Regions from separate parts of the Homo sapiens genome. Here regions 2, 3 and 4 are each linked to region 1. Evidence: promoter capture Hi-C in 16 types of primary human blood cells and fetal thymus (Javierre and others, 2016). All regions are on one chromosome and are shown on one strand. Each heading gives the region's core, a stretch centred on a gene start or on the middle of the fragment in contact. The rest is flanking DNA. Distances are from core to core; before and after follow the strand shown. Region 1 holds the start of TSR2 (TSR2 ribosome maturation factor). Region 2 overlaps MAGED2 (MAGE family member D2). Region 3 overlaps ITIH6 (inter-alpha-trypsin inhibitor heavy chain family member 6). Region 4 overlaps FAM120C (family with sequence similarity 120 member C).

The links. The method cuts DNA at HindIII sites, captures the fragments that hold promoters and counts their contacts. A CHiCAGO score of 5 or more calls a contact.
Region 2: a fragment that was not itself captured here is called in contact with the fragment with the promoter of TSR2 in region 1 in 1 of 17 cell types (fetal thymus); the score reaches 5.0 in fetal thymus.
Region 3: a fragment that was not itself captured here is called in contact with the fragment with the promoter of TSR2 in region 1 in 1 of 17 cell types (fetal thymus); the score reaches 5.2 in fetal thymus.
Region 4: a fragment that was not itself captured here is called in contact with the fragment with the promoter of TSR2 in region 1 in 1 of 17 cell types (naive CD8 T cells); the score reaches 5.0 in naive CD8 T cells.

What each region holds. Positions count from the first base shown.
Region 1 is chrX:54,435,565-54,442,676 of GRCh38, reverse strand. TSR2 (TSR2 ribosome maturation factor) reads right to left here and starts at 2,273. Exons shown (of 5, transcript NM_058163.3): 1 at 2,175-2,273; 2 at 1,897-1,987. The coding sequence starts at 2,255. RefSeq lists an enhancer at 2,506-2,555. The HindIII fragment of the contact is 25,574 bases long and covers 785-7,112 here.
Region 2 is chrX:54,809,861-54,815,642 of GRCh38, reverse strand. MAGED2 (MAGE family member D2) reads right to left here. Exons shown (of 13, transcript NM_177433.3): 3 at 5,430-5,782; 4 at 4,514-4,822; 5 at 4,330-4,393; 6 at 3,990-4,069; 7 at 3,392-3,486; 8 at 2,619-2,698; 9 at 2,483-2,525; 10 at 2,093-2,155; 11 at 868-982; 12 at 1-395. SNORA11 (small nucleolar RNA, H/ACA box 11) reads right to left here and starts at 1,273; the gene lies at 1,143-1,273. The HindIII fragment of the contact is 2,769 bases long and covers 3,148-5,782 here.
Region 3 is chrX:54,789,455-54,796,566 of GRCh38, reverse strand. ITIH6 (inter-alpha-trypsin inhibitor heavy chain family member 6) reads left to right here. Exons shown (of 13, transcript NM_198510.3): 3 at 4,531-4,641; 4 at 5,483-5,730. Among named protein-coding and RNA genes, the nearest start is that of ITIH6, 5.2 kb to the left of the region's middle. The HindIII fragment of the contact is 6,722 bases long and covers 1,682-7,112 here.
Region 4 is chrX:54,174,809-54,181,920 of GRCh38, reverse strand. The region is part of intron 1 of FAM120C (family with sequence similarity 120 member C); the gene reads left to right. Among named protein-coding and RNA genes, the nearest start is that of FAM120C, 4.9 kb to the left of the region's middle. The HindIII fragment of the contact is 526 bases long and covers 2,779-3,304 here.

The DNA.
Region 1 (7,112 bases), core at 1,024-3,523:
TCAGTTACCTATGGGCCTATGCTCTACTTTTTCTGAATTAGACAGTAACTCAAGAAAGTCTCCCACAAAGCTCCTAGCCCTCTCCCCTCTATGTGCTTTCTCTGGGAGAGCTCATCCACACTCTTGGCTTTCCCTACCACTCAAACTTAATATCCCCCGAATTTATCTCCAACTGAGACTACTCTGTGCCTGGACGTTTCACAGATGCCGCAGATCTTCCATATCTAAAGCCAGACTCATCACCTTACTCTTTAAACCTGCTTCGCATCCTCCAGGGTTCCTCTACTCCGAGAAAAGACACCTAATCCACCCATCAACTCAAACCAGGAACTTGCCTCTTTTTCCCTCCCTGTCTACAGCCAACCAATCTCCAAGGCCCTATTCCACCCCTTCTTTTCCATGCCTGTTGCCACTGTCCTACTTCAGGCCTCATCAGTTTCTAGACAAAAACAGCGTTCTCATCAGTCTTTCCCTCTCCAGGTTATGCTTCATACTGATTATTTCCTGAACTTTCTAGCCAGCAAATCCCATCCTATTTCTCACCCTAGAACCTGCCCACGAATTTTTACCAGCCACTGCAGTGTTTCACAGTTTGCCTTTGAGAAATATCTGTTCTGCTGGGTCTTAAGGGACACTATCCATAGAAAGCTAATGAGAAACAAAAGCAAACAGGTTTTTTAGTGGTTCTTATTCTTACCCAAGCCTTTAATATGTTCATGAGTGTTAAGACTTTTCAGTGGGAGCAGAACAAGAGTTTTTCTTACATAAGGTAACTGGAGAAGCTTCTTCACTGAACATCTAACAGAACTAGTTAGCATGAATTTTGGCAAACACTGGCCTAAATGATAAAATCAAAGGCACATAAGGGCTTCCATGTCTTATGCTTTTCAAGGGGGCTTCCCACACCCCAGCTTCATTCTCTACCACTCCTCCACCCCCCACGCACACACGCCCATACTCCAATACTGAGCTCCCTGCTACTTTCCAAATATAACACATTATACCCTCATGCCACAGAACTTGAGTGTTGCTCTCTCTGCTTCCCCCACCTAGTTAACTCCTTCTCACTAAGACCCAGCCCAATTCACCACCTCCACTAAGAAGCTGTCTCCCCATCCTGTTACCCCATGCACCCTGAGCTCCTCTTTATCAGAAAATCTATCAATGTTGTAACTATTTACGTGTGTGGATCCTCAATGGATAGTATACTTTCTTGAGAGAGATGACTCTGCCTAATGTCATCTCCAAAGCTAGAAATTGAATGAAGATTTTTTTAAAAACCATACTATGCAACAGGCCCTCTACTGGGCCTCTTGTTCTTGTATATCCCTCAAGACGAGCCTACAGTGTAGATCTTTGCTGTCCAAACAGCCACAGGTGGTTACTGAGCACTTGAAATATGGCTAGGCCAAATCGAAATGTGCTAAAACTGTAAAATACCAGATTTTGAAAACTTAATACTAAAAAATGTAAAATATCTCAATGTTTTATACTGACTACATGTTGAAATATTTCATACACACCGAGTTTACTAACATTGATTTCATCTGCTTTTTGCTTTATTAAAGTGGCTACTAAAAAATTTTAAATTATATGTGACTAGCATAATATTTCTACTGTACAGCGCTCTGGTGGATACTTTTATACGCATTTTAGAAACTAGGAAACTGAGTCTCAGGGAGGTAAACTGCCTTGTCCAGAGTAATCCCACGAGTCAGTGGTACAGCCCGTAAAGCACTGGAATCCAGGATTCTGATTCTAAAAGCTGAATTCATTCCACCTCACCTTTAGGTACCAATCCACAACTGCTCGAGAGGAAATGCAGGCTCTGCGGGATGGGGCTCCTCCTCTCCACACCCCCACACAGGCGGGTCGCGGCGCCTCACATTCACTCACCATTGCGCATGAAGTAATCCTCCACTGCACCCCCCAGCCACTTGGCCTTCTCCTGGCTGTGCACACCCCCGAAGCCATTCTCCACAGCGATCTGTAAACACAGGTCCAAGCCCACCAAGTCAGCTTGGGAGCAGACCTGGAGTAGCCTGGAGGCCGCTTACGCCGCCCAGCCAACTCCTCTTATGCCGCCTAGCCAAGCCTCAGGCACCTAGCCCAACCAACTCCTGTTCTGCCCCGGGCCCTAACCTTGACCTTGCCCTGGCCCTGGCCCCACTGACCTGCAAGGCCGGCCAGGCCTCCAGGGCCGCGCAGACCCCAGCCCGGAAAAGAGCTCGCGCATCTTCTGCAGCGCCCGCCATTATCCGGCCCCAGTCCACGTGACGTCCCGGCGGCCCAATCCCTCTGTAGCTCGGCCCAGGCAGAACGAGACGCAAGCCGAGCCTGAGAACACAGGATTCTCTTTTCCGCAGACCTGGCAGCAAGACTAGAGCAAAAGAAAAATCTGTCAGAGCGATCGATGACACCACCAGAGTTACTCACTTAAATCAAAGGACACCAGACCTGAAGGACGTGTGGGGCCATGGTTTCCGGATCCGTGGGTACTGCGGAGGAAATATGTGGGGAACTTATTACAGATACAGATTCCAGGCCCTGGGGCAGAGGACTCAGTGAGTATAGCCTTAAAAATCTGCATTTAAAAAAAGCATCCTAACATCTGTATAGAATACTGCAACCAACAACAGTAAAATACAATCAGCTCTCCCTATGGGGGGCAGTCCACGTCCGTGAATTCAACTAACCTCAGATGGAAAATATTCAGGAAAAAATTGCATCTGCATTGAACATGTGTATACTTTTTTTCTTGACATTATTCTCCTAAACAGTACAGTATAACAGCTATATACATAGCATTTACACTTTATTAGGCATTATAAGTAACCTGGAAATTATTTATTTATCTATTTTTTTGAGACCGAGTGTCACTCTGTGGCCCAGGCTGGAGTGCAGTGGCGCCATCTCGGCTGACTGCAACCTCCGTCTCCTGGTTTCAAGCAATTCTCGTGCCTCAGCCTCCCGAGTACCTGAGATTACAGGTGCCCACCACCACTCCCAGCTAATTTTTGTGTTTTTAGTAGAGACAGGGTTTCGCCATGTTGCCCAGGCTGGTCTCGAACTCCTGGGTTTAATCCACTTGCCTCAGCCTCCCAAATTGCTGGGATTATAGGCGTGAGTCACATCTGGAAATGATTTAAAGTATACAGTAGAATATTCATAGGTTATACGCAAATACTATGCCATTTTATATCAGGGACTTGAGCATCTATGAATTTTGGTATCCTCCGGAGGTCGTGGAACCAGTCTCCCACGGATACCCAGGGATAACTGTACATGTTTTTCTGAAGTACACAAGAACATTCTCCAGAACAGATCATACACTAGGCCATACAGTAGGCCTCCATAGATTTAACAGGATTGAACATACAAAGTATGTTGTCTGACCACAATGGAAAGAAGTTAAAAATCAGTAAAAAGAAACTTACAAAATTCACAAATATATGGAAATTAACACACTCCTAAGCAATAAATGGGTCAAAGAAAAAAATCACAAAGCAAATTAGAAAACACTTTTAAATGAATGAAAACAAAAACATAAAAAAATGCATGAGATGCAGCTAAAGCAAAACTTAGAGGGAAATCTTTAGCTGTAAACATGCATATCTAAAAAGAAGAGCCGGACATGGTGGCTCATGCCTGTAATCATAGCACTTTGGGAGGTTGATGCGGGAGGATGGCTTGAGCTCAGGAGTTCAAGACCAGCCTGGGCAACATAGTGAGACCCCATCTCTAAAAACAATTTTAAAAATTAGGCCAGGTGTGGTGGCTCACGCTTGTAATCACAGCACTTTGGGAGGCCAAGGCAGGCAGATCACTTGAGGTCAGGAGTTCGAGACCAGCCTGGCCAAGATGGTGAAACCCCGTCTCTACTAAAAATACAAAAATTAGCCAGGTCTGGTGGCAAGCACCTGTAATCCCAGCTACTTGGGAGGCTGAGGCAGGAGAATGGCTTGAACCCGGGAGGCGGAGGTTACAGTGAGCCGAGATGGTGCCATTGCACTCCAGCCTGGGAAACAGAGTGAGACTCTGTCTCAAACTAAATAAATAAATAAATTTGAAAACTAGGCCAGGCATGGTGGCTCACACCTATAATTCCCGCACTTTGGGTGGGCAGATCACCTGAGGTCAGGAGTTTGAGACCAGCATGGTCAATATGAACAAACCCTGTCTCTACTAAAAATGCAAAAGTTAGCCAGGCATGGTGACACACACCTGTAATCCCAGCTACTTGGGAGGCTGAAGCACGAGAATCGCTTGAACCCGGTAGGCAGAGGTTGCAGTGAGCTGAGATCACTCCACTGCACTCCAGCCTGGGCGACACAGTGAGACTCTGTCTCAAACAAACAAACGAACAAACAAAATTAGATGGGCATAGTGGCATATGCGTGTAGTACCAGCCACTCAGGAGGCTGAGGTGGGAGGATTGCTTGAGCCTGGGAGCTCAAGGCTGCAGTGAGCCGTGATTGTGCCACTGCACTCCAGCATGGGGGACAGAGCAAGACCCTGTCTCAAAAAAATAAAAAATGAAAGAATGATATCAAATTAATAACCTACACTTCCACTTCACAAAACCAGAAAAAGAAGAGCAAAGTAATCCCAAGGCAAGCATAAGAAAGGAAATAATAAATAATAGAACAGAAATAAATGAAATAGAGAATTGAAAAACAATAGAGAAAAGAAAAAACAGTGAAGCCAAAAGTCAGTTGTTGTTTTTTGTTTGTTTGTTTGTTTGTTTTGAGATGGAGTCTGGTGCTGTCACCCAGGCTGAAGTGCAGTGGTGCAATCTCAGCTCACTACAACCTCTGCCTCCCAGGTTCAAAGGAGTCTCCTGCCTCAGCCTCCAGAGTAGCTGGGATTACAGGCATATGCCACCATGCCCCGTTAATTTTTGTATTTTTAGTAGAGACAGGGTTTCACCATGTTGGCCAGGCTGGTCTTGAACTCCTGACCTCAAGTGAGCTGCCCACCTCAGCCTTCCCAAGTGTTTGGATTACAGGCGTGAGCCACCGGACCTGGGCGGTTATTTTTTTTTCAGAGATGAAGTCTTTTTTTGTTGCCCAGGCTGGAATGCAGTGGCACAAACATTGCTCACTGCAGCCTCAAACTCCTGGGCTCAAAGGATCCTCCTGCCTCTGCCTCCTGATTAGCTGGGACTACAGGAATAGGCCACCATGCCTGGCTAGTGTGTGTGTGTGTGTGTGTGTGTGGTTGTGTGTGTGTGTGTGTGTGTGTGTGTGTGTGTGTGTGTGTGTGTTGGGAGGGGGTGTCTCACTTTGTTGCCCAGGCTGGTCTTGAACTCCTGGTTTCAAGCGATCCACCTGCCTCGCCTCTCAAAATGCTGGGATTACAGGTGTGAGCAAATGCAACTGGCCAAGTCAGTTATTTGAAAAGATCAACAAAATTTACAAACCCTTAGCTAGACTGAGGAAGAAATAAAAGAAAGAAGACTCAAATTACTGAAATCAGGAACGAAAGAGGACGTATAATTACCGACCAGTCAAAAAAGACCACATATTGTATGATACCATTTATATGAAATATACAGAATAGGTAAATCTATAGAGACAGAAAATACATGAATGGTTGCCCAGGGCTTGGATGGGGAAAGAATAGAGTGTGACTTCTAAATGGCTTCAGGGCTACTTTTGGGGGTGTCGAAAATGTTCTAAAAATTAGACGAGGTAATGGTTGCTGTTATGAGCTAAATTGTATCCACCACCCCCCAAATTCATATGTAGAAACCCTAACCCCCAGTACCTCAGAATGTGACTGTATTGGGAGATAGAGCCTTTAAAAAGGTAATTAAGATAAAATGAGGTTGCATGGGTGGGCCCTAATCCGTTATGACTGATGTCCTTATAAAGAAGGGGAGATTAGAACTCGGTGCAATGGCTCAGATCACTTGAGGCCAGGAGTTCGAGACCATCCTGGGCAACAAAGCAAGACCCCCCATCTCTACAAAAAAATTTTTTTTTTAATTAGCTGAGTGTGATGGCTGTAGTCCCAGCTACTCAGGAGACTGAGGAGGGAGGATCACTTGAGTCCAGGAGGTTGAGGCTGCCGTGAGCCATGATTGTACCACTGCACTCCAGCATGAGTGACAGAACAAGCCCTGTCTCAAAAACAAAAAACAACAAAATATAATAATAAGAGGAGATGAGGACACAGGCAAAGAGGGACACCAGAGAGGTGTACACACAGGGACAACTATGTGAACACACAGTGAGAAAGCTAAGGAGAAAGCCAAGGAGCAAATCAGAAGAAACTATACTAAAAGCCATTGAATTGTACACTTTACTTATTTGTTGATTTATTGATGAAAGTATTTCCTTAAAATTAGAAATCTAATTTACAAATTACAAATTTTTAAAAACTGACAAATGTCACAAACATCTTCTAACCCAGAAAAATAAAATATTACTTTGTTGTTTTGTTTTTGTTTTGTAGATGCAAGGTTTCACCATGTTGGCCAGGCTGGTCTCAAACTCCTGACCTCAGGTGAGCCGCCTGCCTCAGCATCCCAAAGTGCTGGGATTACAGGCATGAGCCACCACGCCCTGCCAAAATAAAATATTCTTATTAATTACATGACTCACCTCTCTACTAATTTTTCTACATTTTTTGATATCAAAGAGTTTATAGAACTCTTCATATGACAAGTATTTTATATTTTCTAGAGAGAACACAAAGAATTCAATTGATTTCAATTCAGTTGAGTAAAATTTTTTATTATTAGTATTTTAGAAAAGTTTCAATTTCACAACTCATTATTAGTAATGTACATTTTAAGATTTTTGTCAAACTTGGGAAAATTTCTAGTTTCTTTTACATGTGAGCTGTAAGATTTCAGGTTATTTTAACTTCTCTTGGCACAGCGACAAATCTTAAACATTCTTCAAATAGACCAGGCTCAATAACCAGAGACCTGGAAGTGGCCTGTGCAAGTGTGGGGCCCTGATGCTTAAGATTGATTTGTTCTACGATAAATCTATCTCTGTGCAATGCCCAGGGAGAAAGGAGCACAGGGACTCATGGGAGTTCAGCAGAGGGTCCCTGACCCAGCCCTGGGGGCTGTGGCAGGCCTCTCGGAGGAGATGACA
Region 2 (5,782 bases), core at 3,283-5,782, 370 kb before region 1:
GTGCTGGCACCAGCTCCACCAAGGCCAGCGAAGAGCCCAAATGTGAGAGTGGCGGTCAGGCTGGCACCAGCACTGAAGCCACCACTGGTGCTGGCACTGGCACTGGCACTGTTATTGGTACTGGTACTGGCACCAGTGCTGGCACTGCCACTCTCTTGGGCTTTGGCTTTAGCTTCTGCTCCCGCCTGGATCCGGGCTTTGGCCCAGGGTCCGATATCAGCTTCGTCCCAGTTGCAGGGCCCGGCAGCATTCTCCGAGCCGAGCCCAATGCCCATTCGAGCTCTAATCTCGGCCCTAGCCTTGGCTTCAGCTGCAGCCTCAGCTGCAGCCTTCAAATCCGCTTCCATCGCCTCTCGGTACTGAGCTGCCCATTCCTTGGGATCCTTCTTTTGTACCTGAAACAAAAATAACCATCAGAAGGAGCATAGAGGGATTAAGCCATAGTAATAATACAGTATTACTATGTAAATAACCATCAGAAGGAGCATAAGAGGATTAAGCATCTACCTTTATGCTAGGCACTATGCTACATGCTTAGTATAAAAAGATAATAGTAATAATACAGTATTACCAGTAATTATGCACCTAATATTCCATCCCTGCTCTGACACTTCCTAGCCCCATGACTTTGGACATGTCACCTACCAACCTTTCTGGGCCTCGGTTTTCTCATCTGTAACAGGGCAATGACATATCAGGTTGTAAGGCTTAAATGATTCAGATAAAGTGCCTGTTACAGTGTTTTGACAATTAACAGAAGCACCAAAACATTCAGATTTGAACTGCAGGCTGCTCTGCACACAGCCTGCCCCAGCCAGGGGCACCCCATGCTCTTGACTTGCCAAGCTCAAGGAGCTCTCCAATTACCTTGCAGGCAAACTTGAGGACTTTCATCTTGCTGGTCTCATAGTAAGAGCGCAGGCCCCAGAAGAACTCATATTCAGGGGGATTGCTATTGGGGACTCTGGCATAGTCCAGGTACCTTGGAAAGAGAGGTTCAAAGCCTTTATTTCTAAGACCATTCATGGCCTACCCATGCATAGACTGGACAGGCTCCAGATGGCAACATCATCCACTAATTACTACAGTCTTTCTTCCAATATTGAGCCCTGTCCCACTGGTCTTGCCCAGAAGCCACATAGAGGTGTTGGGGGACGTTTGTTCATAGGGAAGCCACAAGTTTGACGCCCTCATCACAATGACCCCAGATTCCTGTTGGGTGTGTTGTAAACAGAGGAGCCATTCTTTGGGCCCCCTGCTCTGAGCACACCCCACTGCAAGTGTCTTGGCCTCAGCCTGGCCAAGCCCAGAAAGGTCCACCACAGAAAATGACCAGAAAGACTACAGAGGAAGAACAGCCAATAGCAGCATGCTTCACACATGCTGAATTCCTGACCCTTTGTGTGTGTTTCTGTGTGCACATGCGTGTGGCTGTGTGAGTGTTTGCATGTCCTCCAAGGACCAAGGATAGGTGAGCTTTGGCCAGAAATTCAAGAGGACTGGGCTCCAGGCCCATACCAGCTGTGGGCCATGCTCAGATCTCCCTTCTCGGAGCCCCAGGTCCCTCAACTGTAAAACGGGGATGGGATGACAGCTGCAGGGTAGTTATGAAAATGAAATGAGATGTACAAGTCAACTCCCCAGCATGGTACCTGGTTGCCTGAAGCTACCATTCTATGTCATTTCTTTACGGAAATTAATTTCTATGAAGCTCTAGTTAGCAGAATAAAAAGAACTAAGGCTTTGGAGCCAAGTTCTAAACATAACTCTTCTACTTGCTACCTGTGTAACCCTGACCAAATGACTTCACCTCTCTAAACCTCAGTTTCTGCATACGTACAATGATGGTAATGATAATCCCTCCCTTGCAGAACTGGTCTCAAGACAAATGTTGAGGTATATGTAACAGATCAGGAAACATGTGCTGCTCCTGTTTCCCATCACCGCCCAAGGAATAATCCCACCTGCATACATGCAAATATGCAAATACATACACACATAGACACATGCATCCATGCACCACGGCTTTATCACTCAGTTCTGAAATAGGCCAAATGCATGGGACACATGAACACCAGACAGAGATACTTACTTCTGCTTCACAAACTCATCAGTGATGAGCTTCTTCACGTCCCCAAAGAGTGAATGATGTATCCTGAGAGAAGAAAAAGAAAAATAAATAAACAAATAAATTCACTCAAGGCTATGGCACTTCCCAGATGTGGGCAGAGGCATTTCCAAGATGGAAAAGAGGTTTCCAGCACAAGAGGGAAGCTCCATAGAAGCCCAAGAGACACTGAGAGAGGGAGCAGAGAGTTCAGGACCATTCACCCATCATCCACCCAGGTCAGAACCCTGGGCCCTCTACCCAGTCCAGCACCCCACCCGCTCCACCAGACCACCAGACTGATGCAATCCTAGGACCGTCCTCTCTTGCCAAAGGACAACACGGACAGCAAGCGCTGAGAGAGCCCAATCATACCCAGGGCGCAGCCCCAACTTGCGCAGCACCTCCCAGATGACAGCTGCGAGGGGAGGCAAGAGGAGACAGGGACAGAAATTGAACACATGGAATCTAGACCACAGCCACCCATTCAGCTGCAAGCCCAGCCACTCACCCTCACTGGACCGATTTCCATTCATGAAGATGATGCTAAGAAGCACCATGAGCAGACCCAGCTTGGGTGAGTCCTTAGTCCTAGAGAAATAACAGGACAGAGAGGTTTATGTTCAGCAGCCATCTGCAACAGACACACCAGCCAACTCACTAGGCTAGCCTCTCCCAGATTCCTCAGATACAGAATTCTACCCAGTCTCTGCTTCCAGCTCTATGCCACCCTTGGCAAGGCACTTAGACTTGCAAGCCTCAGTCTACTCTTCAGTAAAATAGAAAAAATCATATTTTCCCTTCCCTGGGTTTCCAAGAAGATGGAAGAATGGCTGCCAACCTGGTACAACACAAGCACTCAGTCAATGTGAGTCCCTTCTTTCTGTCCCAGAACCTTCAGCCCCACTGACACTCCTGCGCTTCATGCATCCTGATCCACCCACACCAGGAAGCCCTCCTTGAGAACCACTCTGCCAAAGCCAGGCCAGGCACCCAGTAGGAAGAGGCAAGCAACGACAGGCCTGCTTTCCTGGGAAGCTTCTACAGAGACAGCAAACCTGACAGCAGGAATGTCCCACTCCAGGCTCCTACACCCTCCAGTCAATCATAATCAGGTGCCACCACTGTAAGCAGGGCTCCAACTATGCATAGGAACTGGGACGGGGCTTTTGAGACCCTGTCTTTCCTGACTCTCTAAGAGGATGGGGGAAGTAGGACAAAGGAGGAGTAGCAGCACATGGCCAAAGCAGAAGCCCCCCACACCTCAGCCCTTTCCCAGCTTACGTTCCCAGTATGCCTGCATCAGTGGGCTCTAAGGTGCTGAGAAGAATGTACAAGTGGTCATTCTTATCAATTTCCTTCAATTGAATCCCAAATACCTGTGGATGGGGAGAACAGCTTGTGAGATGACAAAATTCAGCTTCCGGGGCATGCTGCAGCTCCCTATGTACCTAGGAGTTTCGCATGTGTGAGAAATCAGTGAGATAATACGCACAAAGTACATAGCTAAGTGCCTGGCACCCGGTAAACACGCTGCAAATGTACTATTGTCATCATCATCTTTGTGGTGAGTGGGACTCTAGGGAGACAGAGAATGGGGAATGAAAGGGAGAGGTGAAATCTCAAATACATGGCAGGAGCTGCCATGGACGGACAGAAGCCAGGATTAAGTTGGGTGTCTTGGGTCCTAGCTGCACTTTTACCATTGACTTGCTGTGTGACCCATCGCTAATCTACACCCCTCCCTAGGCCACTGTCTGCCCCTCAGCATAGCGATGGAGCTGGATTAGCAGGTCTCTTTGGTTCCCGAGAAGGGACTTGTACATTTTTGTTCAATTCAAGGCTTCCCCACTGTGCCCATCCCCCAGGGCTGCCCCTTCACCTTCTCCAAGGAATAGCCTGCTCGTTCAATGATTTCGGGGTACACATCAGTGTATTCTTTGATGATGTCCTTCAGCATGTCTGCAAGGGGAGAGTGTTGTGAGCACCTGACTGAAGAGATGCCAGGTGGCCCTGATGCCCAAGCTATAGACTCTTTGCCAACCACACCAAGGGTGGCATAACCCGGTTCTGTGCTTATCAACAGAGATGCTAGCACTGCCAAATCAGAACTTTGGGAGGACAGAGACATAAGCATAAGAGCAGGGGATATCCCCAGCACAATGGTGTAAGGGCAATGGAGGGCAGAGCTCAGGGCAGAGGGAGGATTGGTAGGACTTTACCCGAGCGCTTGATGGGAATCTTCGTCTGGTCTTTAGCCAAAAGGTACTTCACCAAATCATTTGCCTGGCAGAGTAGAAAAAGATGGAAAGACCAAAACAAGTTTGCAGAAAACTTGAGACGATGGCAAAGAAAAGGACAGCCAAGGCAGTAGAAAAGGCAGAATAAAAACGACAGAGTTCTTACCCTCCCTTGCAAAAGGGCCACATCCCGAGGTGGTGGTGCTTCAGGCTCTTGGGATGACTGGAGCTTGGCAGCTCTACGGCGAGCCTTGCCCCTACGGGCTTTAGGTGATCTCAGGGAGAGCAAGGCTCTCCGGGCCCAAGCAGCCAACCGAGTCCTTGATGCCCTGCGGGCCCAAAAGGCTATGGGACCCCTTGAAGCCCTGCGGGCCATTGAGGCCATTAGGGCCTTTGAGACCCTTCGGCCACCTGTGGTTCCAGAAGCCTGACTCTGATCACTGCTGCCATCCTCTTCCCCATCCAGATGCTTCACCTGCATCAACAGAGAGGAAGCTCAACGTCACCAGATGAAGCAAGTGGTCCTTTTCCTCTCCCTATCTCTTCCAGGAAGCACCCGCTAATCCCACCCCTGTAGTAACAGCCTGACTCAATAGATGTTGGCCATGCTGAACCCTGGATTTGTTTCTCACTGACTTCCAAGCAGGTGTTTCATCTGCCTAGCAGGCCAGGAGCAAACCAAGGGTGGGTGGAGGCTGAGTCTTCTTCTCTTTCTGTGCCCACTACTGGCTCTGCTTGAACCATCCTAGACAAGCCGCTTCACCTCTCTGGAACTCAGCTTCCTTCTCCATAAAATTGGGGCTATGAGAATTACTTTCAAGATTTAATGAGATAACCTGCATAAATGTGCTTAGCTCAAGGCCTAATACAGGGCAGCTACTATGTAAACATAAACTGCATTACATTCAGATTGCACCTCCCCATCAGTCTGCAAGCTCTCTGAAGACAGGAATTACATCACATTACTCTCAGTGCCCCCCACAGCCCTGATGAGCACAGGGATCTTTCTAAATGTTTGTAGAACAAATGAATCAACTGAGAGAGGAGTAGAAAACCAAGGGTGGTGACTGCAGAGGTCTTACCTTTCGGGCTTTCTTGGCTTTGACCTTGGGCCGAGTATCCTGATTCTCCTGAGACTGGGCAGCTGCACTCTCAGGCTCAGGTTCATCTGCTGGGGCCTGAGAGGGTGCAGCCTCAGTCTCCTGAGCCTTTGTATTGACCTTTGTATCAGCCACATGGCTGACCTTTTTGGTCTCAGTGGCAGGCATTGTCACAGCCTGCGGGTCAGCATTCTGTTTCTTGGTGTCAGCTGCTAGACTCTTGTTTTCAGCTGCCAGAACCTGGGTATCAGTCAGCTGAGTAGTAGATGAGGCCTGGGTGGCAGGTGCCTCCCGAGCCTCTGGGGTCTTTGAGACCTCTGTGGCCTTTGAGACCC
Region 3 (7,112 bases), core at 3,793-6,292, 350 kb before region 1:
GACTACAGGCGCATGCCACCACACCCGGCTAATTTTTTGTACTTTTAGTAGAGACGGGGTTTCACCGTGTTAGCCAGGATGGTCTCAATCTCTGACCTCGTGATCTGCCCACCTCGGCCTCCCAAAGTGCTGGGATTACAGGCATGAGCCACCACACCCGGCCAGAACTCACTTTCAAGGATTAAATGAACTAATATACATGGAAACATATGCTAAAATTAGCTCCAGGCACATATTAAGTAGTTGATAATATTAGCTTTATTGCTTTTTAAACAAACATTTCCTGGTGCTGAGTGTGTGACTTACACTGTGCTGAGTCCAACAGAAAGAGGAAGGTGAACTGCATATAGTCCCTAGCCTCAGAGAGTTCACAATTTAAGGGGGGATATAAAAAAGGAAACTGGCCCAGCACAGTGACTCACACCTGTAATCCCAGAGCTTCATGAGGCTGAAGTGGGAGGATTGCTTGAGGCCAGGAGATCAAGACTAGCCTGGGCAATATAGGGAGAACCCATCTTTAGAAAAAAAATAAAAATTAGCAGGGTGTGGTGGTGCATGCCTATAGTCTCAGCTACTCAGAAGGCTGAGGCAGGAGGATTGCTTGAACATGGGAAGTTGAGGCTGCACTGTGCTATGATCTCTGCACTCCAGCCTGGGTGACAGAGTGAGACTGTCTCTAAAAAAGAGCATTGGGTTGGGGAGCAGTGAGCAGATTACTTTAATAAAGTATGCTGGGGAAAACTGAAGTCTGAATGTGGAATGGTTGGAATGGTGAGGTGGACCAGAAGACAATGGTGGGTTTCCTATTCCCAGGCTGGTGGAGAAAACCTCAGAGAGATAACACCTAAACTGAGGCTTGAAATAGGACATCTTCACCAGGCAACCAGGGTGAGGGCAGGACTGGAGGAATCCAGGAAAAAGGAATAAAGGCACAAATGTTCCCTTAATTAGGGGAACTGCAAGTACTTCTGTGTCACTGTACTGTCAGGGACAGACAAGAGGTAGAAGAGTGGTAGAAGAGTGAGATGTGAGAGGCAGAGAAAGACTAGGCTGTGGAGGACTTTCAATGTTAGAGCACCTCCTTGGGTCTCACTTAATGGTCTCCAAACCATCTTATGTGTTTGCACACCTATCAGGAAAAACTTGATCCTATACTCTCAAAACATATATACTTATTCATTTATGCATTATATAAATATACTGCTGAGCAAATATATTAGGTACATTATGAAGCATATAAATATTAATCCCTAAAGGATAAGGAAAAAGCCCTAAAATAGAGTATGAATATTATTTTTCCACTCCCTTTCGATTTGTCTCCAGCATCCCCTGGGACATGTGCACCCCTCTTTAGAAATAAGTGTGGGCCATAATAAGGAGACATGGCAAGGTGTTAAGCAAGGAGAGGTGATTGTGAAGTGGTAGCAGACTGGAGGGGCCGGCTAGGTGGCCAGGAGCTGAGTAGGCAAACAGGGGCAGAATCCACGTAGGAGTTGCTGAAGGTGGGAGCAGGACAGTGGTGGTGGATCTGAGAGACTATCGAAAGAGAAACAACCTGACTGTAGTGGAGAGTAAGTAAATATAGATGGTGTTTACCTTTTTTCGGCTTGTTAGACCTGGTAGATGACAGTACCCTGTTGAGGTGATAAACAAGGGAGCTGGAGCAGATAAAGGGAAAGCTTAGTGGGGCCTCAGTAGCCAGTATCACACTTTAGTGTGAATTACAAAAAGGCCCCTGGATTTGGGTAGAGGGACTATCAGATTTACCAGATAAGTGAGCCCAGCACAAGCAGAATATCCACCCTTGTTCAGCCCCGCTTGTCCCTGTTAGTTGGGAGGAGGTTCTTGTGCCATCAATAATCTGTACAACCTCAAACAGCAGCCCTGGGGTGGGCCTAGGCTGTGCCATCAAGAACCTCCTGGCACTTCCCCTGGAGAAGGATTGGGTTAGAGGAGGGGATTGGTATGGAGTCAGAGCCAGGGAATTTGGGGGAGAAGTGCTGAGGCAGTCAAGGAGGGCTCCCTGAAAGCAGGATTTCCATATGGGTAAGATTTGAAGGGACCAAGATCATTGCATGTTGGGACCCAGGGGAATCAAGGACCAAAAAGAGCAGGCGTGGGTTTGGACTATGGGGGGCTAACCAGAGAAGCTGGCAGTCAAATGATGTAAGGGCCAAGTAGTCAGGCAGAATTTGGATTTTTGCTTCAGTTGAAAAAAACACCAACAGATTTTTTTAAAAAAAATTAAGCAAAGCAGGCTGGAGGAAATGTTCTTGGGCAGACTCTGTGGAAAGTATGCTGGCTGGAGGCAGCACACACACAGAGGCCCCAGTGTCCTGCTGCCAGACCAGCTCCACCCTACCCCCCTCACCCCCCAGGAGACCTTGGGGAGGTGCCAACTCGGCCCACCCCCACACTAGCCCAGCCACAGCAATACTCTGTTTCAACTGCCTAGAAACACTTCTTCCCTGAGTGGTCTCTTCTGCCACCAGCCTATCTTCCCCCAGTGCTCCTGGAAGCTGCTGCCTTGGTCAAGCAACTTCCTGATACCTGTGCCTCAGTTACTCCACTTGTAAAATGGAAACTGTTGTACTTGCGTCCTACAGAGTTGCACTAACTTTCTCTAGGACACCCAACTATCACTCCTCAAAGGCCAGCTCTGATCCATCCTTCCCCTTTTCAAGATTTGTCCAAGACTCTCCATTCTCCACGGCAAAAAGTCTTTGCTGCTGTATGAGCTCATTGAGTCTTGTGTTCAAAGCCCCCTATTCTCTAGGCCCACTCAACCACCCCAACTTTCTCTCCATACCTCCCTTCCCTGCCCCTCCACTCCAGTCAAATTTAACTACTTGCTGTCCCCTGAAACACATTCTGTGTTTTCCTGCTGTCTGTCCAGGATGTCCACTCCACAAATAATTGTTGAGCACCTCCTCTGTGCCAAGCCATATTCCAGACACCAGGGGTACAGCAGCAAATAAAGTGGTAAGAAGTCAGTCAGATTGTGGATGTCTTCTAAAGATGGAGCTGAAAATCCCTGATGGATTGGATGTGGATTGTGAAACAAAGAGGAGAATCCAACATGACTCTAAGATTTTTAGCTGAGCAACTATGTCCTGAAACAAAGATACCAGAGGAGGAGCAGATTTGGGAGGGGAGAGTTGTCAGGAGCTCAGTTTTGGATCTGTTCAGCTTGAGGTGTCTATGGAACATCCTAGTGGAGATGTCAAGTAAGAAATTGGTTTTTTGTTCCTGTGACAGTTTACTGAGAATGATGATTTCCAATTTCATCCATGTCCCTACAAAGGACATGAACTCATCATTTTTATGGCTGCATAGTATTCCATGATGTATATGTGCCACCATATGTAACTAACCTGCACATTGTGCACATGTACCCTAAAACTTAAAGTATAATAATAATAAAATTTAAAAAAAAAGAAATTGGATGGGTCTGAAGTTCAGGGCACAAGTCCACACTGGAGATACATATTTGGGAGGCATCTGTATATAAATGGTATTTAAGGCCATGGTGCTAAATGACATCACCTAGAGAGCCAATGTAGAAAGAATAGAGGACAGAAGGGGAGAGGGAGGGAGGGGAGAGGATAAAAGGTTGACAACAGAGCCTTGGAGTGTTCCAAAGATTTAGAGGTTAGGAAGAGAAAGAGCCAACAGAGGAAACTGAGAAGGCATGGCCAGTGAGGATTATTTATCCATATCCTCCCTGTCTTTCAGGCTTAGCTTCAAGACTACCTTCTCTAGGACCCTTTCCTGAAGACTTGGGCAAAAGTGTTCTCTCCCTTCTTTGAGCTTCTTTTCACTTTATTACCTTCCTTAGAGAAATGGGGAGAATGGGGGTAAGCAAGTCTGCTTGTAACTCATCAGTCTCTGAGCTCCCTGAGGACAAGGCCTCCTCCCTAGTCAGGCCCAGAAGACTTTGCAACAATTTGCACACTTCTTTCACAATTTTTACCACTTTTACCACCCACAGTATTTACTTAATATATTTTTATATTAATATGGCCATATTATTTACCCAATATATTTTTTCAATAGATATACTTTCTGAGATGATCTGAGTTAGTTTTATTCTGAGCAACAATATCTATGAGATCATGGGTTTAATGTGCTAGTTGTAATTTAAGAAACATTACTGTAAATACATAACAATTATAATAAAAATATTCGGTTATATCGTACCTAAAATTATGCTGTGTGCCAAAAGGTAGAATTCATTCAACACTTTGGGAAACACAAGACTCTAACAACCAGATCCACCATATGCTGTGTGGCCTCTATTTCCCCATCTGACAAATGGAGATAATGATAACTACTTCACTCTGTTATCTCCCTCTCCTTTCCTCTTCTTCTCTTCTTGCCGCTCACACTGGGGCTTTATGGCACTGTGTTGTTCTTTCTCTTTCCCTATCTCTACCCTCCTCTTTCTACCTCATGTGTCTCTTTCTCTGTCTCTGACCAACTCTTTATTTTCTCTGTCTCTACTGTCCCTCCTCTTTCCTGCCCCATTAGGACCATCAACAATAAAGTCTACATTGCAGAAGTCAAAGAGAAGCACCAGGCAAAGAAAATCTATGAAGAAGCCCATCAGCAGGGAAAGACAGCTGCTCATGTAGGCATCAGGTAAGGCCCCATCCAGTCCAAAACATGACTTAATCATCTTAGCTGTGTGATCAGGGGAGATGCACGTTCTCTCTGGTCCTCAGTCTCCATCTCTGCAGAGTGGGGACATGACCTCTACTTCACAGGATCATGTGAAGATGATGTGAGTTAATGAATATCAAAGCCTGTAACAGGGTGGGTGTTCAATAAATGGAAATTTACTTCCCCATTTCTACTTTTCTACTGTCAGCAGATTGTGGCTTATTTAAGAATTGGCACCTTCCAGGAAGGTTATATGCAAGTGAGATTTTTCTAAATTGAATTTTGTTTCCTGAGTTCCATTCAGCGGGCAGAAATGTATTGTCTTCCTTCAGTGTTTCCTCCCAGCTTCCAAGAGAGTTTCATGGAGCAAACACTTTAGCTTTGGCTCCAGCAAACTGAGTTACTGCCATATAAACAAGCTCCTTCAAAAGCATAGGGGAGAGGATAGTAGGAGGGTCTATTTGAAGGGGCTGAGGCATTGTATGTAAATTGAAAACTCTTTTGTAAAATGAATCATTAGACCCTAGTTGGTCTGTTATATATTCAGATTTTGATGGACTAAGTTCCCTTAAGGGTGGACCACCTGTGAGATAATTTCTCAAGCAGAATATTTAGGAGGCTGAATGAGGGAGGGAGGGAGAGAGAGACTGATAAGTGGATGCATGGATGACGGACCATGAGCCAGTGACTCAGTTGAACCAGAAGCCTAGTCAGGTCGGCTGGGACCAGGGTTGGGGGGAGCAAAACTAGGTCATCTAACAGCCCCTGTACTCCTCTGAAGGTCCCTTTCTCTTCCCACCATCCTCCCTTTCCTGCCCAGGGACCGGGAATCAGAGAAGTTCCGCATCTCCACCAGCCTGGCAGCAGGCACAGAGGTGACTTTTTCCCTGGCCTATGAGGAACTGCTTCAGCGGCACCAGGGCCAGTACCAGCTGGTGGTGAGCCTGAGGCCTGGCCAATTGGTGAAGAGGCTGAGCATAGAGGTTACAGTGTCAGAAAGGACAGGCATCTCCTATGTGCACATACCACCCCTGAGGACCGGCCGTCTGCGCACCAATGCCCATGCAAGTATGTGGGCAGCACTATGGGTCACCCATCAGACTGGCCTTCACTGAATGAAAACCTTATCGATTCCACTGGGTTTCCCTCTAGTGCCACTTCTGCTCTGTACTCACTGCCAAGTTCCTTCCTGATTCAGTGAGAAGAGGGCATGTTTGAAGGTGAAAATATTTGGATTTTAACCTTGGCCTGGTCCTTACAGGCTATATGACCTGGCACATTAGAAACTTCCCAGACTCTTGATTTCCCTAAAAAAAAAAAAATCAGTGATAAGGGAGGGTTTGTTGGGTGGGCTAATGAAATTAAATCATATGTTAACCATGTTGAAGGCTGTAGAAGCCACACTGGCCAAATCACGCTTTTCCCTGGATCCCCACTGAGAATGGCAGGAGAGTGAGTGCACAGCAAGTGCAGGCTCCCTGGAGGACACCATCTCAGGCCCTGGAGGGAAGAGAAGCATCCTGCCTCAGAAGTTTGCTTCAAATGTCACCTAGAGGTTTTGGAAGCCCAGACTGGCTACATCAGAATCACAACATGGGCTCCTAGAAATGCAGATTCCTGGAGCCCAGCCTTCAGGGTCTGGTTCAGTAGCATGGGGGTGGGGCCCAGGAAGCTGTGTCATCAACCAGTCTCAGGGGACATTGACATCCAGCCAGGTTGGAGAATCACGGAGCTGGCCTGCTCACCTCATCTGAGAGATGAGAGGACAGGTGCAGAGAAATCCCTGGCTCATGTGGCAGCCCCTCCAAAGCTGTTTAGCATTGGAGGTCCCAACTCATTCGACTCTGTTGACCCAGAGAGGCACTGGGGTGGACAGTGGATGTAACAGACACAGACAGACACACAGACTGGATCCAAATCCCAGTGCTGACACTCCCCTAATGTGGGACGATCAAAGCCAGTCACTCCATTGCTCGACTTCACTTTTCCCATCTGTAAAATGGACGAGATGCCATCTACAGCTCAGGACCACTGTGAGACTTTGAGAGAATTCCTCCCTCCCAACTACGTGGTGCAGAGAAGATTGCACGATCATTCTACTCATTAGCATTAGGTGGCACTCACTGAGATGCAGGTATGGCTCCAAACGCTTTACATGAATGGCCTCATTTATTTCCCACAAGCACTGCCTATGAAGTAGGAGCTGTGGTCATGCCTGTGCTGTAGATGAGGAGCCAGAGGCTTAGAGAGAATGAGTCGCTTGTCCAGGGACACACAGCAGCAGCTGGAACCTGGACCCACAGGCCATTTGAGTCCGGGCAGGCCGCACTCTTCAGCCCTAAGCTATAAATGGCAGATCCCTCCCCCATTCTCCTTAAAGGTTAAAACAGAGGGTAGGACCAATCCTGTGGGGGAGAAAACAGAACAAAGAGCTCTGAGAGGAAGGAAGC
Region 4 (7,112 bases), core at 1,792-4,291, 260 kb after region 1:
ATTCAGTCACTGTTCAGCAAGTATTAACTCACTGAGTGTAAGGGTTTTAAAGACATGTGAGACACTGCTCATGCCCTTGGAAAGTTAAATGTATACACATGAAACATTTAATTATAGCAATGTGTATGTGATTATGCCTTATGGTCCAGACAGTAAGTACAGTTCCTGTTTTCTGTATGTGGGAGTGGTGGGATATCTTTGGACTAAAGTGGTCAGGGGAGGCTTCCCTGAAGAAGTCGGACCTCACCTGGGTCTTCAAAGGTGGATTGGATTTGAATGAGTCACAAGCTTGGGAGGAGGCTGCTTTAAGTGGGAGGAAGAAAATGAGCAGAAGCAAAAAGGAATATTAAGTGTGCAAGGCCCCATAGGCAGTTAAGTCCAATCTGCATGTAGTTGGGTCACTGCATATGGGGCCTGGGGAACAGCTTGGCAGCATCCCCAGTTCTTGGCACCACTGCTGCTGCTCTGTTGCTTTCCCATACTCTTAGGTTTCAAGTTCCTACGTGTAGAGAATAGCAAGGCTTGGGAAGTAAAGGAGGTGGGCAGGAAGAAGAAAAAGAAAAGTAGTACAGGGTTGGGTAGAAAGAAACCGCAAACCTATTTCCCCAACCAAGGTTCTTGGGGGTTGTCCTTACAGTTAGACAGAACAGGGGATTGTGGGAATCACTTAAGAAGTGGTGTCGGCTGGAGTAATGAGGAGGAAAGAAATTTTAGCTCAGAGACTAAAAGACCTAAACAGAGAAGCTTGCAGTGGTTATAGAGCTTGTGGCTAGAGTCCAGTCATGCTAGACTCGTTCTCAGCATCAAATCTGTGCCTAGAGTGCCTAGATTATAGTTGTTTTAATTTAAACTAATCCAAACGTGAGCTATCTCATACAAGGTTAAAAAAAAAAAAAAAGGCACACATTTGCTTGCTCTTCTGACTGAACATTTTAAGGTAGATTCTTTATTCATGGCCATTCTTTCCACTTTGTTTTCACTGCTACCACCCAGGCTTTTAAGGACTTTTTAACCTCGTTGTTATTAACCTGGTTGCTGGCAATAGTGACCACATTGATGGAATATTTACTATGTTTTAGGTGTCGATCTGTGCACTTCTTTTAAAAAAAATTACCTCATCATCCTCGCAATAACCTATGAAAGCAGTATTATCCCTGTTTTCCAAATGAGGAAACTGAGGCACGGGCTTAGAAACTTGCCCAAAGTCACCCAGAGATAAGTGGCAGGGCTGAGATTTGTGCCTATGTGGTCTTCCTCCAAAGCTCATACTCTAAACAACAGTGCTGCTCTAAAATGAATCTTTCTAAAGTGCCACTGTGATTAGATCATTTCCCCACTCAGCTAAACTCTTCCTTGGCTCCTGGGTAAAGACGTGTTCAGGTCATTCACTTACTTTTTTATTTGAGTGCTTGCTGTAGGCTAAGTACTAGCTGCTTGCTGAGGACTGAGAGGTAAATAAGGGGATCCCGTCCTCAAGGAGGACAAGGTTTAGTGAAAGAGATAATAAATTGCAGATACTGTGGGCTAATTGCAAGTGATGAAAAATGTGGCCCCTATAGGGGGCATGGTTAATTTTGAGTAAGGGAGTGAAAGTTGGGGAAGGCTTCACCGATGGTGCTAAGCCATGAAGAGGGCTGTAGATAGTTCAGATAGCGGACAAGGGTGTGGAGACCCGAATAGCCAGTTATGAGCTCTGAATAGATTTTGATTGGAGGTTGGCAGGAGAGTTGAACACTTGAGTATGGGTTTGTGGTTTCCAAAGTTTTTTTTGTTTATATACCCCATCAGTCAAAATCTTTAGAGAAGCAGCCCTTAGTATATTTTTGTCATACTTCACTACACAGTCTCATTTTTAAAATCCCAGCAGTTAATAAAAAAGATGGATTGAATAGATGGATATGTGATAAATCAGGTATAGTAAAAATAGTAGAATCTCAGTCACGGGTATTCAGATGTTCACTGTAAAATTATCTCAACTTTGCCATGTGTTTGAAGTTTTTCATAATAAAATGTTGGGGAAAAATTCCCAGCAGTCCTCTTTAGTCCTTAGAAGCACTCTTGGGGAATGTATAAATCTTATTCCCTGTGCTAGATTATAAACAAACTCTGATCTTTTTGTATTCTCCATAATGTCCTGTGTACTTTGGGTGCAGGGTACATTGTTTTTTTCCATAGTGAATAGGTCAATGATCCTAAGAGAATGGATTGTAGAAGTGACTTTTTAAGAGTGTAGTGTGGCTCTTAATATAATGGATTTAAGACCAGCTCCAAAATTGCATATCTAAAGTGTCTGTCGATGTTACTAATGAGTGAAGTTCTCTCTCGGTTCTGGTCAGTGACTTTTTTGTTGTTACTGGAGTGATAAAGAACTCCCTGGATTGTAGCACAGACTTGAAAGTATTGATTAATAACCGATTGTGGTTTCCCTTTTCAGAGGAGTGTTCTACTGTCTTGAAGGTGGGAATTTTTCACTTGGATGATCTGCATGCCTACTATTTCTTTTGACTGAATGTCAGTGCCTCAGAACAAAACCCACTACTGTATCTCTCCCCTCTTTGGTTTTGTTCTTCAGGCTAGACCACAAGATGGGCCTTTATTCCCAGTCTCATTTTCATTTGTGATACAGAAAGTAGAGGTGGAAGGATTAAATAATAGATAAATTGCTGGGTTGTCTGTTTAGCTTTAGACAACTTCGGACTTCCCATGAAAAGATCCAGTGTGTATTGCTGGGATGAATTTTTTGATTTGGTTGGTTTCATTTATATGCTCTGCAAAGCTTTGTAAATGATAATCAGTAGAAGGAAAATTAAGTAAACCCACAAATTGCTTGCCTGATTGCTTCCTAAGGGTCTCAGAAATAAAGCAACCTAAAGCAGTTTTAGATTGTGATTCAGGAGATAATTTAGGGTGATTAAGGGAATGAATGCTTTGTTTTAATGGTTACTGTGTAATTAGAAAAAAATGATCAGCACATCAGACTCACCATTTCACAGCTATACTTTTTTAGAATGATTATGATTACATAAAATGAGTTGATTTAAAGAAAGCTATTAAGTTGCAGTACGTGGATATGGCAGAAATCATGTTGGTGGCATATGAATAACCAGACTTTGAGAACAGATACCATTTTGTGCTTTGGTTCTCTAGAATACGATAAAGCAATGGCTGCTATGCCTCCTGATTGTTTACTTACCATTAGTCATAGACATTCTGAAAAGTCATTGACTTTTCTAGATGCTCTAGTCGTTGGAAAATAATCAAAATAATAATTACTTCTTAGGCAACAAGTTGTATATTAAAAGCTTTTAAAATATCTCATTTAATCCTCAAGAGCTTGCAAGGTGCATGGTATTCTCCCCATTTTACAGTTGAGTAACTGAGGTAACCAAGAGGTAAAATAATTTTTCTTTGTTCTAAGTACTAGTAAGTGGTGGATAAAAATTATTGTTCTAGGTTTATATTGCTCAAAGTTTACACAATCCCACCATCCTGTTTCCTTCATTTTATACATTCTTGTGTATGATCGTACACTGTTATTGGCTAGACAATATGCATAGAAGACAATCATAAGTAGATTTTTTGAGCACTTAGTTTGTGCCAGCATTGCTAAATGTACAATACTGCCAGTACAAGGCAAATGTGTAAGCTAAGTGCCAAGTAAGTGAGTCATACAGTGATGTTATAGGAATTCAAAAGTAGTAATCCCTGTCCTTTCTACAGTTTCAGTCTCTGCCTCTCTGGTTTCTTTCACTTACAGCATGCACAAATAATCTTTGAAAAACAAAAACTTCCCCTTTATTTTCTAATTCCTTCGAGCCATTATCTTTATCTCCTTTCTTCCCTATTCACCATTATTCTTAAAGAAGCAGATTGTATTAATTCCCATTCCCTAGCCTAGTGCTACTTTATATCTGATGTCACCACTCTGAAGCTGCCACATGCATTTCCATTCTTAGCCTTTCTTGGTCCTCTTTAAGATCATTAATATCAAGCCATCCTATTCTTGAACTATCTTCCTTGGATTTCATAATTCAGCTCACTTCTGATTCTCCTTGTAACCCTCTAGTTCTTTCTTCTCTTTTCCTTATTCCTCTTCTGCCTGCTTCTTTAAATGTTGGTGCCCTCAAGGCTTCTGTCCTAGTCATATTCTTCTGCTTTTGTTTCCTGAGCAATCTCATCCATTATTGTGGCTTTAAGTATTAATTAAATTCTGATGATTCCTATTGCTCTGTCTCTACCCTCGACCTCTCTCATGAGCTTTCAACACATCTTTTCAGCTCTCTACTACTTGATGTCTTTTAGGTCACTTAAACTAAAAAATACCCAAAATGGAACTCATTATGTTTCCCCAAAACTTGTTTCACTTCTGGTACTCTCTTTTTCTATGAATGGTGTCTTTCATCAGTTTCAAGCCAGAAGCTGTGGAGTCCTCAATTCTTCACTCTCCTGTCACTTCCCACATTTACTTGGTCATCGGATCCTTTGAGTTCTACGTCAGAAATGTCTCCTGAGTCCAGCTACTTCTGTCTGTTTCCACCCCCATTGCTTTAGTTCAGGCTGCCAAAATTTCTTACCTGAACCAGGAAGACAGTGTCAACTTGTTCCTTTACCATAACACTCTCCGGACTCCATCTGCCATATTGCTGCCAGAGACACGATTCTGAAAACAGAAGCTGACTCTGTTATATGCCCAAAGGTGTATTTGCCCACCCTACCGAGTCCAAACTTCTCAGCATGGCAGACAGCGCCCTTCACAATCTGATCCCAAACTCTCTCCAGACTTACCTGGTGCTCACCTCTGGCCACCCCTGTTCCAACCATTCTATATTTTCTTAGTTTCCTAGACATACCGTGTCCTCTCTCATAGTATTTTTCTTATGTTTATCTTGACCTTTGCATAGCAAATTCCCCCTTATTCCTGCTCAAAAGTTATCCTATAGAATCTTTCCTAGCCAGCCTCTGTCAGCTGTGGTAGATGAAGCCTTCCCTTTACTACCAGAGTACTCTGTTCTTACCTCTCTCATATTTTTTTCTCTTTCATAGTATTTTCATATCGCATAATTCTCTTTTAAATGAGTTCTAAGAGGGCGGAGATTTGCTCTAGGACTTGACATATATAAAATAATGTTTGCCGTGAGAGAGATTGGTTGATTTGCCTTTACTGACTGAATCACTACAGAGGGCTTTACAGGTCAGATGAAGAATTTAGAATCAGTGCTATACAATGTTATATGTTAATTCCATCTAAATAAACTCAGATTGCAAACTGAATTGCCAAACTCCTTTTACTCAGAAGTTTTGTAGCTACTTAGCAATGCACTTATAGAATATATTCCCCTTTGATGGTAGTAATAATAGCTACCACATGGGCGAGGTACCTCACCAATATTCATTTAATCCTCACAACCACCCAACAGGAGAGGTATTAATCTCTATTTTTTCCTCTACTCCTATGACAGATTAAATCTCTTTTTTTTTTTTTTTTTTTGAGACAGAGTCTTGCTCTGTGGCCCAGATTGGAGTACAGTGGCATGATCTTGCCTCATTACAACCTCCACCTCCTGGGTTCAAGCAATTCTCCTGCCTCAGCCTCCCAAGTAGCTGGGACTGCAGGTGCGTGCCACTACACCCAGCTAATTTTTGTATTTTTAGTAGAGACGGGGTTTCACCGTGTTGGCCAGACTGGTTTCGAACTCCTGACCTCAGGTGATCTGCCTGCATCAGCCACCCAAAGCGCTGGGATTACAGGCGTGAGCCACCACGCCTGGCCTAAATCTCTACTTTTTATAGCCAAAAACCAAAAAACAAAAAAACAGGCTCAGTGTAGTTACTGGCCCAAGGATACACTGCTAGAACATGGTTGGACCAAGATTTGGACCTAAAGATATTTGACACCAAAATCCTTCATCTTTAACATATCTCAAAACAGTATAATTGCGTTTTTATAGTTATATTTTAATAACTTTTTCTAGAACATTTTTTCCTATATTTAGTTTGTGTAGCATAATGGCTGACAACACAGGCCTTGGAGCCAGACTGCCTGGGTTTAGATCCCTATTCTTCTAAGTACTCATTATGTAAGCTTAGGCAAGTTACTTGCTCTGTGCCTCAGTTTAACAATAATACCTACATCACAAATTTTGTTGTGAGTGTTAAATGATTTAAGTAATATGCTTGGAACATCATATGGCATGTAGTAAATGCCATATAAATGCCAGCTACTATTATATTGACTAAAATATCTTGTAGCGGGGCATGGTGGTGCGCACCTGTAGTCCCAGCTACTTGGGAGGCTGAGGCAGGAGGATTGCTTGAGCCTGAGAGGTTGAGGTTGCAGTGAGCTGAGATCGCACCAATGCACTGCAGCCTGGGCGACGGAGTTAAGACCCTGTATATATTAAAAAAAAAAAGTATAAAATATCTTGTGCACCTAGTAGGTTGGACATTGATCACCTCACTCTCATGCTTTAAGCTTAGCATGGCATGCCATGGCATGCCTTCATGATCTGCCCACCATTATCTAGCCTAATTTTACCCCATTTTTCTTATCAGGACAATGCTTTTCAGTTCAGTTAATATTTTTGAGCACCTGTTCTGTGCCAGACACTGTGCTAAGTACTATGAACAACGGAATTAATTTATTCAGCCAATGTATTGGACTCCTGTGTGCCAGGCAAAGTTCAAGATTGTGAGGATACAGCAGTGAATAAAACAGATTTCTGACCTCATGAAACTTGTATTCTAATGGAGAAAATAACAAACAAGATAAATAGGCAAAATATGTTTTGTGACATAGGAAATGCTGTGGAGAAAATGAAGTAGGGAAGTGAGATAAGGAGTGTTGAAGTCAGGGGTACAAAGCATGGTACCCTACCCTTCCAGGAGCTCATAGTCTATCTAGTAGAGGAGACAAGTAAGAAAATACTTATGGTATAAGTCCCCAGGATCATTTCTCCGGCCCTTGTCATTAGGCCCAGGGACATAACCAGTAGAAGTGGCAGAAACCAGGATTTGCATACCAGAAGCAAAACCCTTGCCCGTTCATCTGTATCACATGAGGAAATTACAAAGGTTATGGCAAAGATGGCAAACTGGCAGCCCGTAGGCCTTAT